Linked DNA regions of Homo sapiens: regions 2 and 3 are each linked to region 1. Evidence: promoter capture Hi-C in human tissues and cell types (Jung and others, 2019). All regions are on one chromosome and are shown on one strand. Each heading gives the region's core, a stretch centred on a gene start or on the middle of the fragment in contact. The rest is flanking DNA. Distances are from core to core; before and after follow the strand shown. Region 1 holds the start of SGCG (sarcoglycan gamma). Region 2 has its middle 24 kb from the start of FGF9. Region 3 has its middle 18 kb from the start of MICU2.

What was found. Contacts are between HindIII fragments. The study calls those that stand out against the background at their distance.
Region 2: a fragment that was not itself captured here is called in contact with the fragment with the promoter of SGCG in region 1 in 1 of the 25 tissues and cell types used here (mesenchymal stem cells).
Region 3: a fragment that was not itself captured here is called in contact with the fragment with the promoter of SGCG in region 1 in 1 of the 25 tissues and cell types used here (lymphoblastoid cells).

Annotation. Positions count from the first base shown.
Region 1 is chr13:23,178,754-23,183,351 of GRCh38, reverse strand. SGCG (sarcoglycan gamma) reads right to left here and starts at 2,373. Exons shown (of 8, transcript NM_000231.3): 1 at 2,277-2,373. The HindIII fragment of the contact is 3,028 bases long and covers 1,815-4,598 here.
Region 2 is chr13:21,645,242-21,649,894 of GRCh38, reverse strand. No RefSeq gene overlaps it. Among named protein-coding and RNA genes, the nearest start is that of FGF9, 24 kb to the left of the region's middle. The HindIII fragment of the contact is 5,535 bases long and covers 1-4,581 here.
Region 3 is chr13:21,619,513-21,623,944 of GRCh38, reverse strand. No RefSeq gene overlaps it. Among named protein-coding and RNA genes, the nearest start is that of MICU2, 18 kb to the right of the region's middle. The HindIII fragment of the contact is 7,337 bases long and covers 1-4,432 here.

The DNA.
Region 1 (4,598 bases), core at 1,124-3,623:
AGTTCCTGACCAGTTACCGTCATTTTCCCGAGGTCTTCCTGACTTCCCCGCAGTGTGGGGTCAGGATAAGAGGGTGCATTGATGGGTGATGCCGATGGAAGCTACTATTTACTAAGAAGTCAGAAACTTTCTAATTGCCTTATATAGACTAAATTTGATACTTGTTAAAATGGTAGCTGCTACAATGCAACTCCTCTCACCTTACAAATGAAGAAACTGAGACATAGAAATTAAGTAATTCACACAAGGTCAAATGGCAGTCTGGCTCCATAGCCTAAACTTTTAATCATAGCCTCTTCATTGATGTTAGACTTTCCAGAGATGTTTCTCAAGTAAAATTAATTGAGCATTTTAAAAACAGAGTTAAAGAAGTCACGAAGGTGAAGCTAGGTTTTAAGGTACTCTTCACTGCCGCCTCCACTGCCCTTAATCCATTCTCCATGTCAACTGCAGTGATCCTTCCAAAGCACCCATGTGACTGGGCTGCTCTCCTTTTCTAGAGGTTCAAAGGTCTCACTGGTGCTTAGGATGAAGCACAAACGCCTTTGGGCACAGCAAGCCCTCCTGTCCCCATTCCTCAGTGGTCCTACCCACCAGTCATACTGAAGTCGAGCAGGCAGTGAGATTTTCACAGGTTCTGAGAAAAGTCTTGAGACCTTTACCATTCACAAATTACTAAATACTCCTGTACCAGTGTTCCCATAAAACTATCTACAGCATAACATATAAAATTAAAAATGAAGCTGGAATCCAAAATGGCCAAAGTAGCAAGTGATGGATCCTGCAATCCTCATGAGAACGTCGTAGAACTATCTGGCCCTGCAGTAGGTCTGGAGAAGAATAAAGCCAGACAGGTGCTATAGAGGCTGAGAGAAGGGGAGGGAGGGAGGGAGAGACAGGAAGGTGTCATGAAGGTCAAGGTGGGTTCTGAAGGAGCAGGAGAGTAGCAGAGTCATCCTCAGGACGCTGTAGTTTCTCCCCTCCCACTGGGAAACCACAGCCCTGGTGCCTCAAGCTGAGAAGACACAAGCGCTGTGATGAGCCACAGATTAGGGAGTGGAGGGAGATCCTCAGGCCCTATAAGTTATGCAAAACTGAACACATTGGGAACCCACTATAATTTACAACTATCATTTAATTTTTAATGCAATTTAATAACAACTTAGTTTAATGACTAGCAAGTACATTTTTTAAAGGACAATATGGAACAATTTCATTTTCCGCATTTTAACTGCAAGCTTAGCTGATATCTTTTGGACACCTGAATTTGTTAGTCTTTGGAATGCTATATCTAACTACATTGAAATGCTACTTTTCATTTGTCTTTGAAAGACAATCTGAAATGAATCCTAGAACCTATAAAACGAACCCCAACTTGTAGCATTACTTTTTAAATTCCACAAAGGTGCCTTTTTGTACCTACAAAATGTTTGCAAGAAAATAAGCAAAAAACAAACGGTGTATTCCGTAGTTCGTTTTTGTACTGGTCTGCTGGCAAATCTTTCAGTCAGCTGAGTTATATTTTTCCGTATTATTTTTTTCTAATCCTTCCTTTAAAAAAATTGTGTTTGCTAGTTGTCATGTATTAATTTAGAAAACGCAAAGAAAGAACTCATAACTTCAGTAAGCTGAAGCATTAGCACATGTGTACTTTTACCCCACTTATGTTTATTTTTTCATACATATTTTGAGCAGTATTTTATATTTTCCAGATTTAGGGAAAGAAACATTCTTCCCTTTTCACTCCAAAAATAGTGAAGGAGTCAGGTTGCTATTTTGCTCTTGTTTTGTTTATTTCCAACTTATAAAACCACTGGACTTTTGTTGTCATTCATTTTAGTTTATTTCTTAGTGTCTATAACAAAACTATCAAGAAAATCTAAAGCAAATGTAATTCTACCACTAAAGTTTAAGAGCAGAATTAGAAGTAGGTGATCTTAAAGATAATACTTTGTTTAAATTAACTACAGGATCCAATTCAATGCCCAATAATACAGAAATGCTACCTTTGGCATTCTACAAATTAAAAATGTTAGAAATATAGGATTATGCTAAAAATATGTAGCATATTTGTAGTCAGAATAACTTAGTTGAAATGAGAATTTCATTGATACTTGATATGTCATTATGTTGTGATACACCAATTTATTCAACATTATTTTAAATTTATTATTATGCCACCAAAGAAGAAAGAATATTAAGAAACCTCTTAAGCGTTTGGTTTTTAGGTAGTACTTTGTACTGATATAAAATCTAAGTTAAAACTGAGCACTTACCTTAGATATTAAGAAAAGCACACTGGCGAATGAACTACAGCTGGCCCGAGCTCTACCACAGACAGAATGTTTCAAACTTTTCTATGACTTACAGAATGAGAGCAAAGGATGAAGCTTCAGCAACTGTCCCTGGAGAAAGGGCTCTCACGAGTTTCGCCCTGTCTCATGTTTCATCCCCTCACATTAGCAACAGACGTGTCTAATTTTACTCAGTGACATAAACAGTTCATACCACACTTAAAATTTTTTGGGCACCAATTCCAGGACACAGCTCTTCGCATGCCAAAAACAAACCAAAACAAACAAACAAACAAGAAACCAAACTCTTCTTCTTACAAAACCAACTTTCCAACATTTAAACCCTAAAGCATGATAGTTTAATGTAATTATAACTTTCTTAAAAAAACTTTACCTCAAACAAACAGCAGAAAACTTCTAAGACTGGTTTCCATTAGAAACTAATGTTGATAAAATTTTACGAAAAATCTCTTCAAATTAACATGCAAGTTAGAACTTGTGACTATTACCTATATACTAGTCTCATCCAAATGAACGGCATATTACCATGTAACAGTGACTCTTTAAAAATCACTTTCCCTAAGCCTCTTTAAGTGAAAAACTTTTAACATCTGAGGAGAAAATCTTAAACAAAGATCACCATAATAGAAGGTAAACAAACTCTGCATGTTAAAATTATGACAGTTCTTTTCTAGTAAACTAACATTTCTATTGTGTTTAACAAATTATGTGAATGTAACAAATGTGACCTTAAATTGTCTTTATGTTTATTTAAGAGTAATTAGGTCATTCCATTTTATAAGGTGTAAAGACAACAGAATAAATATCGAACTTCTGAATAATTTTAATATTTTATTTTGCATTATTTTTATGTGACCTGGTTTGCAGCAGGATTAAAACTTACTAAATTATATACTTCATATTTGCATTTTAGTACTAAACCTTGAATATAAGAAGCAGTGCCTTAGTATACATGCACACAGAGATGGGAACAATCAGATACTGGGGCCTGCTTGAGGAAGGAGGGAGGGAGAAAGGTGGGGTTCGGAAAACTGTCTATCGGGTACTGGGCTTACTACCTGGGCGATGAAATTATTTGTACATCAAATCCTGGTGATATGCAATTTATCTGTGTAACAAACCTGCACATGTACCCCTCGAACCTGAAATAAAAAATGAAGAAAAAAAGGAGCAATGCAATAACAATGCATATGCTTCATTCTCATTTTATTTTCTTCTCAGGAGACTTTTCTCTTCATTCTGCTTATTTATACTCTACCATAATTTCTTTTGAAATTTGATACTTCTATCATACCAGCAGCTGCAGGCCTTAAATTACAAGCTGATACAGCTTCAAATAATCTTACATTTGTAAGACATTTTAAAACCTTTCATGAATTCTCTGCACATTAGTACTTCTACTTTGGGAATTCAGCTAGACATAAAATTATAGGACAACTATCAATTTTAAACAAAAATAATATATTAAACAATAATGATATGAAATGTATTTTTGTATGAGTGTATGTCTGAAAAGTCAAAGTCTGAAACTGCTAACTCAATATTCTGATTGAAATGTCATGCATGTAAAGGTTACAATTGAGATACCTCTTCATCAATCGTAAATTGGTTTTGTTGCAATGAACTTTTCAGTGTTTTGGGAACTGCTTTGTAAAAATGTTAGTCAGGTGATGTGTTTGATCCCCACTCATATTTACAGATTCATTTAATACTATCCACACCTATGTTTAGTAGGGCAGAAGAATCACATAAAGAAGCCTTTGATTTTATCAGTTAGTTGAAATTATTAAAGCAAGACCTTCAGTTTGTAATGTAGGCAGCTTAAGTTTGTAACTCACACACACACATTTTGAAATGTTCTCAAAGGAATCATAATACTTTAAAGCTCCAAGAGACCTTAAAGAAATCTAGTCTAACAGTCATTTAGGTGTAAAATAATTTGTTCCAGATTACAAAGCTAGTAAGCCTATGGGTAGAAGTGACTTTGAAAGTCCTTAGGCCTAATTTGGTGCTTGGGTGCTCCACTGTAAACGTGCTCCAACCATGGTCCTACGAACCTATGGGGACCTTTCTGGCTTCCCCCTCATTCTCCCTCTGCTTCCATTTTTGACTACTGCAGTCATCAGTTAGCGCTGACCTTTCTTCCTGACACCATCTCATCAAGCTCTTCCTTCAGTTTGGGCATTGATAACCCTGTTTCTGGCTTAAGTGGTTGGGTTCGGGGGATCACTTTCAGAACCAGTGAAAACAAGGAATTTCAGTAGTGATGTCGTCAGTTTTGGA
Region 2 (4,653 bases), core at 565-3,064, 1.5 Mb after region 1:
GTTTGCTGGCTTTGCTGAAAGTGCCTTTTGTGTCAAAGTTTTGAGTGATTTTGGAAGGGTAAGAGGAAAAAATCGTGTCCTTTTTTAAAACAGGTGAAAATACTAATTTCCTGAATTAGTGAAAGTTATTGTTACTGCCTATAGTAAAAGCATTAAAACTTTAAATACAATCACATGTATAACATGTCTACCAACCTGCCGTTAATTAGTTTATCAGGAAACATAGTTTATGTTATTAATTTTTTTTTTTTTTTTGAGATGGAGTCCCGTTCTGTCGCCCAGGCTGGAGTGCAGTGGCGCGATCTCGGCTCACTGCAAGCTCCGCCTCCCGGGTTCACGACATTCTCCTGCCTCAGCCTCCTGAGTAGCTGGGACTACAGGCACCTACCACCACGCCTGGCTAATTTTTTGTATTTTTAATAGAGACGGGGTTTCACCGTGTTAGCCAGGATGGCCTCGATCTCCTGACCTCGTGATCCACTGGCTTCGGCCTCCCAAAGAGCTGGGATTACAGGCGTGAGCCACTGCGCCCAGCCTATGTTATTAATTTTTAAAGTTACATATCTCCGGAGATTTATTCAATTTTCACTTGACATTTTTGAATTGAACTTACACATTAAACACCATTTGCTCATTTCAAAATCTCTTTTGTCTCAAAAGAGGAATAAGAGGAAGTTTTTTTAGATTGTAACAGTAGCATCCTCATGCCCCATGTGTCCAATGTATAATGAACACAGCACATATTTTCTGCTAACAATCCAATATGTTTGTTGAGAGGAAAAATTGGCTGAAAATACACTGAAAAGCATGTATTTTTCATTGCCCATGATATTAGTCAGAATTCTCCACAGAAACAGAATCAACAGGAGATATATAAAGATATATATAATAAGCTAGAGAGATTTTCTTATAAAGAATCGGTTCACATGATTATGCAGACTGGCAAGTCCAAGATCTGCAGAGCAGATTTCCCGCTTCAAGGCCAAAGGCCAGAAGCTGCTGTAGAACCAGGAAGGGGCCATGTCTCAATCCAAAGGCCATCAGGCCCGCAATTCGGCCACACAGATATATTCTAAATGATTGCTTTTTAGTGTGGTAGAAGATTGTTTAGTGCCATGGAAAGGTTTCTTAAATACTATTGACCAGGTCTCTGCAATCATAGACATGAATGTTTATAGTACCTTGAGATATAACTCATCCCAGCCTATAAATTTGAACCCAGTTAGAGTGCTCAGGTCCTCACTTACTAAACCCATAAAATAGAATCATATGGCCAGAAGGAAACTTTGTGATCATCTCATCCAAATCCCCGCTAAGAGTGACTTAAGGAACAGTAAGGCAGTGCTTTCAATTTATCTGAAATTATTGATGGAGACTTGATTCCAGACACTTTTAAAGTAATAAGCATTTAAATATGAAATCAGGATCTGATGCTGACCACAAAATGAATAGGGAAAGTACAGACCTGTGTTGGTAAATAATGTTCCACTATTGCTATTTTTTCTGAAAGTCAAGATGGCATAGGGAGACCAGTCGACACTCTGTAGAGACTGTTGCTAGCATCCAAAGGAAATTCCAGGAGTAGGTCTTACTCCTGGCTGTACCTCAGGACTATGTGTGGAGTGACATAAAATTACAGTTGCATGGGACCCATCTCAGACTTACTGCTGAGATTTCCCTCCCCTTCAGTAGAGAATGCTAATTGAGAATTCACTGAAACTTTTGGCTTGCTTTATTTAGACGTGCCAAGGCAAAAAGCAGAAAAAAAACACTGGACATGCAAATTACAATTTTTTTAAAGGCCTACAAGTTCAAAAGCAGTGTTTTCAGAATTACTTTTCTCCACCTGTAAAATAAAGTTTTGATCAGAGAAAGTCTTATAAAGTCACTTCTGAAGATAATCACCAAAAAGTAAAAATACAGAGTATTGATTTTAAGTTTATCTATGTCTGGGACCAACCTTTCAGAATTCAGTTATAAACTTAGAATACATCTATCTGTTCACAATACTTATATGTCTAAATGCCACCCCATTGGAGTTTAAAGCTCTGATATTGACAAAAATATTCTTCCCGTACCATGTGGTATGCATGAACTGCAACAAACTCCAAAGAAACACTGGTTCTTATTGCCAGGATATGACTTTTAATTATGAATCTGAAGAAAATGTGGCACATATACACCAAGGAATACTATGCAGCTGTAAAAAAGGATGAGTTCATGTCCTTTGTAGGGACATGGATGAAGCTAGAAACCATCATTCTGAGCAAACTATCCCAAGGACAGAAAACCAAACACCGCATATTCTCACTCATAGGTGGGAATTGAACAATGAGAACACTTGGACACAGGTGTTCACACCAGGGCCTGTTGTGGGGTGGGGGGAGGGGGGGAGGGATAAGAACTTCTCCTACTGGTGTAAATGTAAATGACGAGTTACTGGGCGCAGCAGCACACCAACATGGCACATGTATACATATGTAACAAACCTGCACATTGTGCACACGTACCCTAGAACTTATACTAAAAAATAAATAAATACATACATAATAAAAAAAATTATGAATCTGTTACTTTTGTACTGAGAAGTGAGGACAGTACAAACTCCAACAGAACCATTATAAGAAGAATGACTATAAAACACATTAAGATCATTGGATAAAAGTGCCACATAAAGACAATCTCTGAAGCCACAGCATTATTACAACTGCAGTAACCAACATAATCAGAAAATTTTTCTTTCATTTTGCAAAATCAGTTACTGAAATAAGTTTCCTCTATTGAAAAAGTTGATGAACTAATTATTCTTAAGCTTAATTCAATAATTTATCAAACACCCTCTTTCTCACAGTCAACAGCCTCCTATAACTAACTGGCTGCCAAATGAGGATGCTGCTACTGAACCACTCTCTGGGGACAGAGCGTTCTAGAGCTTTACCTGGAAATCACATGGGATCCTTGTTTAAATGCATGTTCCTAAGATCAGCCTCATAGAGATTCCAATTCAGCATCTCTGGGCGGGGTCGGAGGTAGGGGGAGTGAAACAGCTGCATATTTAATGCATACCCTAAGTGATTCGGAATGGTGATCAGGAAACACATACTTGGAGAGACTCTGCTATACAGTGTAGCCTTTGACTGGTTTCACCTGTTGTGATTTTTGCTGATTGACTTGCATTCTCTCACCTGGCTTCCTTCTTAACCTAATGGTTCAAAAACTTGGCTGAGTGTTGGAATCATGTGGGAGCCAGACCTCACCCTCAAAGATCCTGAGTAAATTAGTCCAGGGGGACCCCACCTCCATGAAGTTTTGTAAAGCTCCCCAGGTGTCAGTCCAGTTTGAGAACGTCATCAGTAGTCTGCAAACCAGCTGTAACTGGCCCCCTGGCACACTCTGCCAGCCTCATCACCAAGTTGTAAGTACCTGAGCCAACTGCATGTTAGGGTGCCCAGGGCCAAGACCCTAACTTCAGGGGACAACAAAATCACAGAGATTACAGACCTTCATGCTAAACAGAGAGTGGCCCTTCTGAACTGAAGCCTCCCCATCCTGGACACAATCCCAGAGAGGCCCTTTGGGGACACTGCTCTTTACTCTCCACCAAAAGAAATCCAAGCCCAGTCAAATAAGAGGGCTTTCAGTCAGAGAAAATAGGATTTTTCCACTAGTAAAGGAGGGTGCCACTCCCTCATGAGAACTCTTCTGCTTTAGCTAGCCAAAAGCAAAGAAAGAAATAATAAATACTTAAGTATTTATTAAATTATATATATTACTAAATATTTATTAAATATTTAATAAATGCTTAAGATATTTATTTATATATTTATTTTTGGCTACTAAAACAGAAGTTTTCATAAGGCTGAGGGACCCTCCTTAACTAGGAATATATACATATTTGTGTGTGTGTATATATATAATACACACACACACACAAAATATATAGGGTATTGCAAAAGTAATGCAAGCTTGTTTTAAAACACTCAAACAACTCAGAAGTGTGGGAAGTAAAATTAAACAACCCCTCCCGTCCTCTCAAAGGCACTCACTAGTACTTGGTGCAGATCCTCCCAGAACTTTTTTGAAGTACTGACATATATGCATAGGGTTGTTCCTTTAATAGGAACAAAGTGTACATATTGATATTCAGCATGATTTTTAAAAATTAATACTATACCCTGGCTATCCTCCTCAGTCAGAACCTTCAGGCTTGTCTCATTCTTTGTTAATGGCCACTTCATTCTCCATAGTATCCATGTACCATGATTTAAGAACTTCTACTGGTGGATTTCTGGATTGTCAACAGTTTTTCAGTCTTCCAGACAATGCCATGATGAACATACTTAAAAACTGAGCACAGTTCCCTCCTGAAGTGAACACCTCTCTTTGCACAACTGCAGGGAGTGGGGCTTGGAGAAGACAAAAGATATGCCCTGGAGTTGAGGTGAAAGGCCTGCCCCAAATGACGGCTCCTTTAGCATAGTTCTTGGTCTTACAGTTCTCCTTGAGGAGGCTTTCCTTGCCACTTTGTAGAATTCAGCTCAGACCCATAAACCTGGACTGAGCGCCCACTAAGTGCTCAGCCCCATGCTAGATGCTAGGGATCCAACACTATGTGGGACGTGGTCTCTGCCCTCAAGAAGCTCTGCCATAATG
Region 3 (4,432 bases), core at 221-2,720, 1.6 Mb after region 1:
TAACAACAGGATTGTCAGAGAACAGTAACCAGCTTCTTATAGACAGTGCCTGACACAGTCCTGAGCAACCAATCCTGGAAACAACATGGAAACCTCTCACATTCAGGGTGTCACTGAGGCCAGCTTCCCACTCAGAGTAGGGGTGCCTTTTGAAATATCCTCAACAAATGGCCAATCAGATTTTTCTTGAACATTTCCTGAGTGGAAAATGTAAGGCCTCCCAATGAAGCCCATTCCATTTTGGGCAACCATTGGGGAAATCATAGTCAAATTACATATAACTAGAAATGTCTTTTACTTGATTAGAAGGACTTAATTATAGCAGGTAAAAGTATTTTTCCAGTTCAATGGCTGCCTGGAAAGCCCTGTAATCTGTCCTATCCAAATTTTTGTGTAAATATATTATACAACATTTCAATGACCCATTAGAAAATTTTAAATCCCCCAATAATGAGACATCCTTCAATCAAATACTTCTTTCAATTAGGCCCTGAGGGTGATACATACTTCTTTCCCTAGAATCCTTAAGTCTTTTCTTACCCTATTAATGTTTTTCCTTTTTGTATACCTTTTCCTCTTTAGGCAGTTATGCTTAGTAAATGCTAATGCTTTTGTTTCTGTGTCTCCCAATACAATAAATTTACTTCAAATGTGGATAATATAGCATTTATTTATTTTTATTTATTTATTTATTTATTTATTTTTTTTTTGAGACAGAGTCTTGCTCTGTCGCCCAGGCTGGAGTGCAGTGGCACGATCTCGGCTCACTGCAAGCTCTGCCTCCTGAGTTCAAGCCATTCTCCTGCCTCAGCCTCCCGAGTAGCTGGGACTACAGGCGTCCACCACCACGCCTGGCTAATATTTTGTATTTTTTAGTAGAGACGGGGTTTCAGCATGTTAGCCAGGATGGTCTCGATCTCCTGACCTCGTGATCCACCCACCTCAGCCTTCCAAAGTGCAGGGATTACAGGCGTGAGCCACCGCACCCAGCCAATAATATAGTATTTCTATAGTATAAAAAGAGCTCGTCATCCCCTTTCTTTGTAAACTTCATTCTTTAGTTAATACTCTTCATCTCTGAGCCTAAGAACCTAACCCTGACTGCTCTTCAAAATTCCAAAAATGCATTTTCACTACCTGCTGGACTTCCCTACATCATTATTACAAAAATACTTCAGAGGCCAGGTGCCATTGCTCATGCCTGTAATCTCAACACTCTGGGAGGCCGAGGCAGGCAGATCACCTGTGGTCAGGAGTTTGAGACCAGCCTGGGCCAACATGGTGAAACCCCATCTCTACTACAAATACAAAAATTAGCCGGGTATGGTGGCGGGCACCTGTAGTACTAGCTACTCAGGTGGCTGAGGCAGGAGAATCACTTAAACCCGGGAGGCAGAGGTGGCAGTGAGCCAAGATCACACCACTGCACTCCAGCCTGGGCCACAGAGCAAGACTCTGATTACAAAAAATAATAATAATAAGCTTCAGATACCACTAGACCAAAATGAAGTTGTCACTCTCCCTTCTTCACCCCATCTCTTCTCCCTTCATAAAGCTGCTCCTCCCTGGGCCCTTCCTCGTTCATGGCAAAGCAATGCCAAGATTCTAATTGCTCCGTGGTTTCCCTCATCTTCAACATCCCATAACCTGCCAGGACCTTTTGATTCTACCTCTACCTTATGCCTCCGGGCTCCCCATTCACCACATCCTCTGCTCCTGTCCTCAGTCAACTCTTCATTTTTGGACTCTTAGACCATTTCAACAGCCTTCTAACTGATCTCCTAATCCTCCAATTAGAAACTTTGGTGATTCGCCTCTAAACATAGAATTCAAAGCACAGTGCTTCACTCTTGGATCTTTAAACGTCTTTTCAGCCTTATCTTGCATGACACTTCTCTTGAACCACACTCAACAGTTGTTGGTGTTCTCCCAAAATATGGTCTATTCTGTCTTGCCTCAGCAGCTTTGCTCAAGTAGCTCTAGTGGTAACGTCTTTTGAGGAATGTCTACTATCGGTGTACTTGCCACTTTTGAATTCCCAACACAAACTCTATTACCTCTTCTAAGAACACTCCCAGTCATAATTAATCCCTTCTTTCTCAAATATATCCCAAACACTTTGAACCTTTCTTGCAGCATTTATCCCATTTTACCTTATGTAAGAGTTGTTTATATATTTCTCCCAAAACTGCAAACTTCTTGAAAGCAGGGACTGTCTTATTTATTTCTGTATCATCCACTCATGGTAGCAAAATCCTTTGTTCATAGTGGGCATATTATAAATATTTGTAATAGGAATGACCAAAAGTCTCATTGAAATCAGGGTAGATTAACCAGTAACATGAGCCAACCCTTTAAGAAATGTTAAGAGATGTCCTTCCTGTTTTCTTAATTTGTTTCTATGTCTATATATTGGTTGATAAGATACTGTACATTGCTACCATGTACTCTGGAAATGAGTAAGACAGGATGGAAGATTTAAGAAAACTGGCTCAAGCAAACCTTGGTTGACATCAGGCACAAAGAACTTTACAAACCTGCTCTACAGTTTGTCCTCAAAATGCTGCATTCGAGTTGTTTTGTTCATAAATGATGAAATTTCATAAAGTACTGATAATCAAATGGGGAAACGTAAATGTCCTTTGGAAGTTCTTTGATCACATAATGTATTTCTTCCTTGCTTTGGGGCTCAAAGAATGAGGATGACAGAGAGACTGAATGGAAAATGGAATGGTGAGGGCAGAGAGAGAAGAAGCAAGTGGTAGGAAAGAGTGGAGGGAGAAAATAAAAGGCACAAAAAGCAACTTAAAAGGACCAGAAGTGATTTATGACCCGTTTGGTGTCTAGTGTGCTCATCACTCTGCCCTCTGGTCCCAGACTGTCTTTGATCTTCCTCACGGCTCATCCCATCTGCTGCCTGGAGGAGCTGGAAGGACCAAGGGTCAGAGTAATGTTATTTCTTCTCTTGTTAAACCTCACGCTCTCCTCTCTCTGCTGTCCTGCTTCCTTACTACTTGTATCAGGGCTGGAATCAATGACCTGCCTGTATAGTCTGTATATATATTTGAGGGAACTGTTGTGGGTCGAACTGTGTCCTCCAAAAACATATGCTCAAGTTATAACCCCTGGTACCAGTGAATGTGACCTTATTTGGAAATGAGTCAGATGTAATCCACTTTGCTGATGCAGTCAAGCCAAGATGAGGTCCTACTGGATTAAAATGGACCTTAATCCAGCGATTGGCATTTTTTTTCTTTCTAATCTTTTTTTGAATCTTTTTTTTTAATTTCAACTTATATGTTAGATACAGGGGGTCCATGTGCAGGTTTATTACATGTGTATTTTGCACTCAGGTAGTGATGATAGTACCCGATGGGTAGTTTTTCAACCCACACCTCCCTCCCTCCCGTGTCTGGTGGTCCACAGTGTCTGTTGTTCCCATGTTTATGTCCATGTGTCCTAAATGTTTAGCTCCCACTTATAAGTGAGAACATGTGGTATTTGGTTTTCTGTTCCTGTGTTAATTCGCTTACAATTATAGCCTCCAGCTCCATCCAGTGACGGGTATCTTTTTAAGAGAAAGGAGAAGGAGATTGGGCACAGACACACAGAGAAGGCAGCCCTCTGCTGAGGGAGGCAGGGACTGGAGCGATGCAGCTTAGGCCAGGCAAGCGCCAGCGAGGGCCAGTAACCTGCAGAGCTGGCAAGAGGCAGGGAGGTACGCGTCCCTCGAGCCCTCAGAGAGCCCTGCTGACACTTTGACTTCAGACTTCTGGCCTCCAGCACTGTGAGAAAATACATACCTGTCGCTTTAAGCCACCCAGTGTGTGGTGATTTGTGTGGCAACCCTAAGAAACTGATACAGGGACTTAAGGATGTTGAGTATTCAGAGGAGATCTTAGACCACAGCATAAAGCCATACAAGTTTCTCAGCTCCTGAGATAGATGTTAATCCATTTGGCCCAGATTTCTAAACAATGTGGTTTGCTCTACTTAGAACATATTTTGTAATATTAAGTTCTGGCTTTGCAATTTCATTTTATTAATGTTTAAATCTCAACCAGAACAATGAAGCTGTCACTGAAGAAGAGAAGAAAATAGAAGAGTCAGCAAATGTCTGGTATCTAGTAGGTGTTTAATAAAAATACTTGTTGAATGAATGAATGGAAACAATTATCAGAAAATGTCATAAGACATAAAAGCAGAACCTCTGATCCTGATCCCTGAGCACAAAAGTAAGATTTCACAGGCTGAGCTGAGTAACTCAAGAGCAGATGTCTACCACAGGCGGAGCCACAAAATCTAAGAGTAGAGCACCCACCATAAAAGGTATATAAAGAAGTAGACTAGGCTACAGCACTGCAGAAAGCACTATATGCTCAGGTGGATAGAATGTTTTCCTGAGCGGCTGGGTTCTAGGAAGGATTGGCGG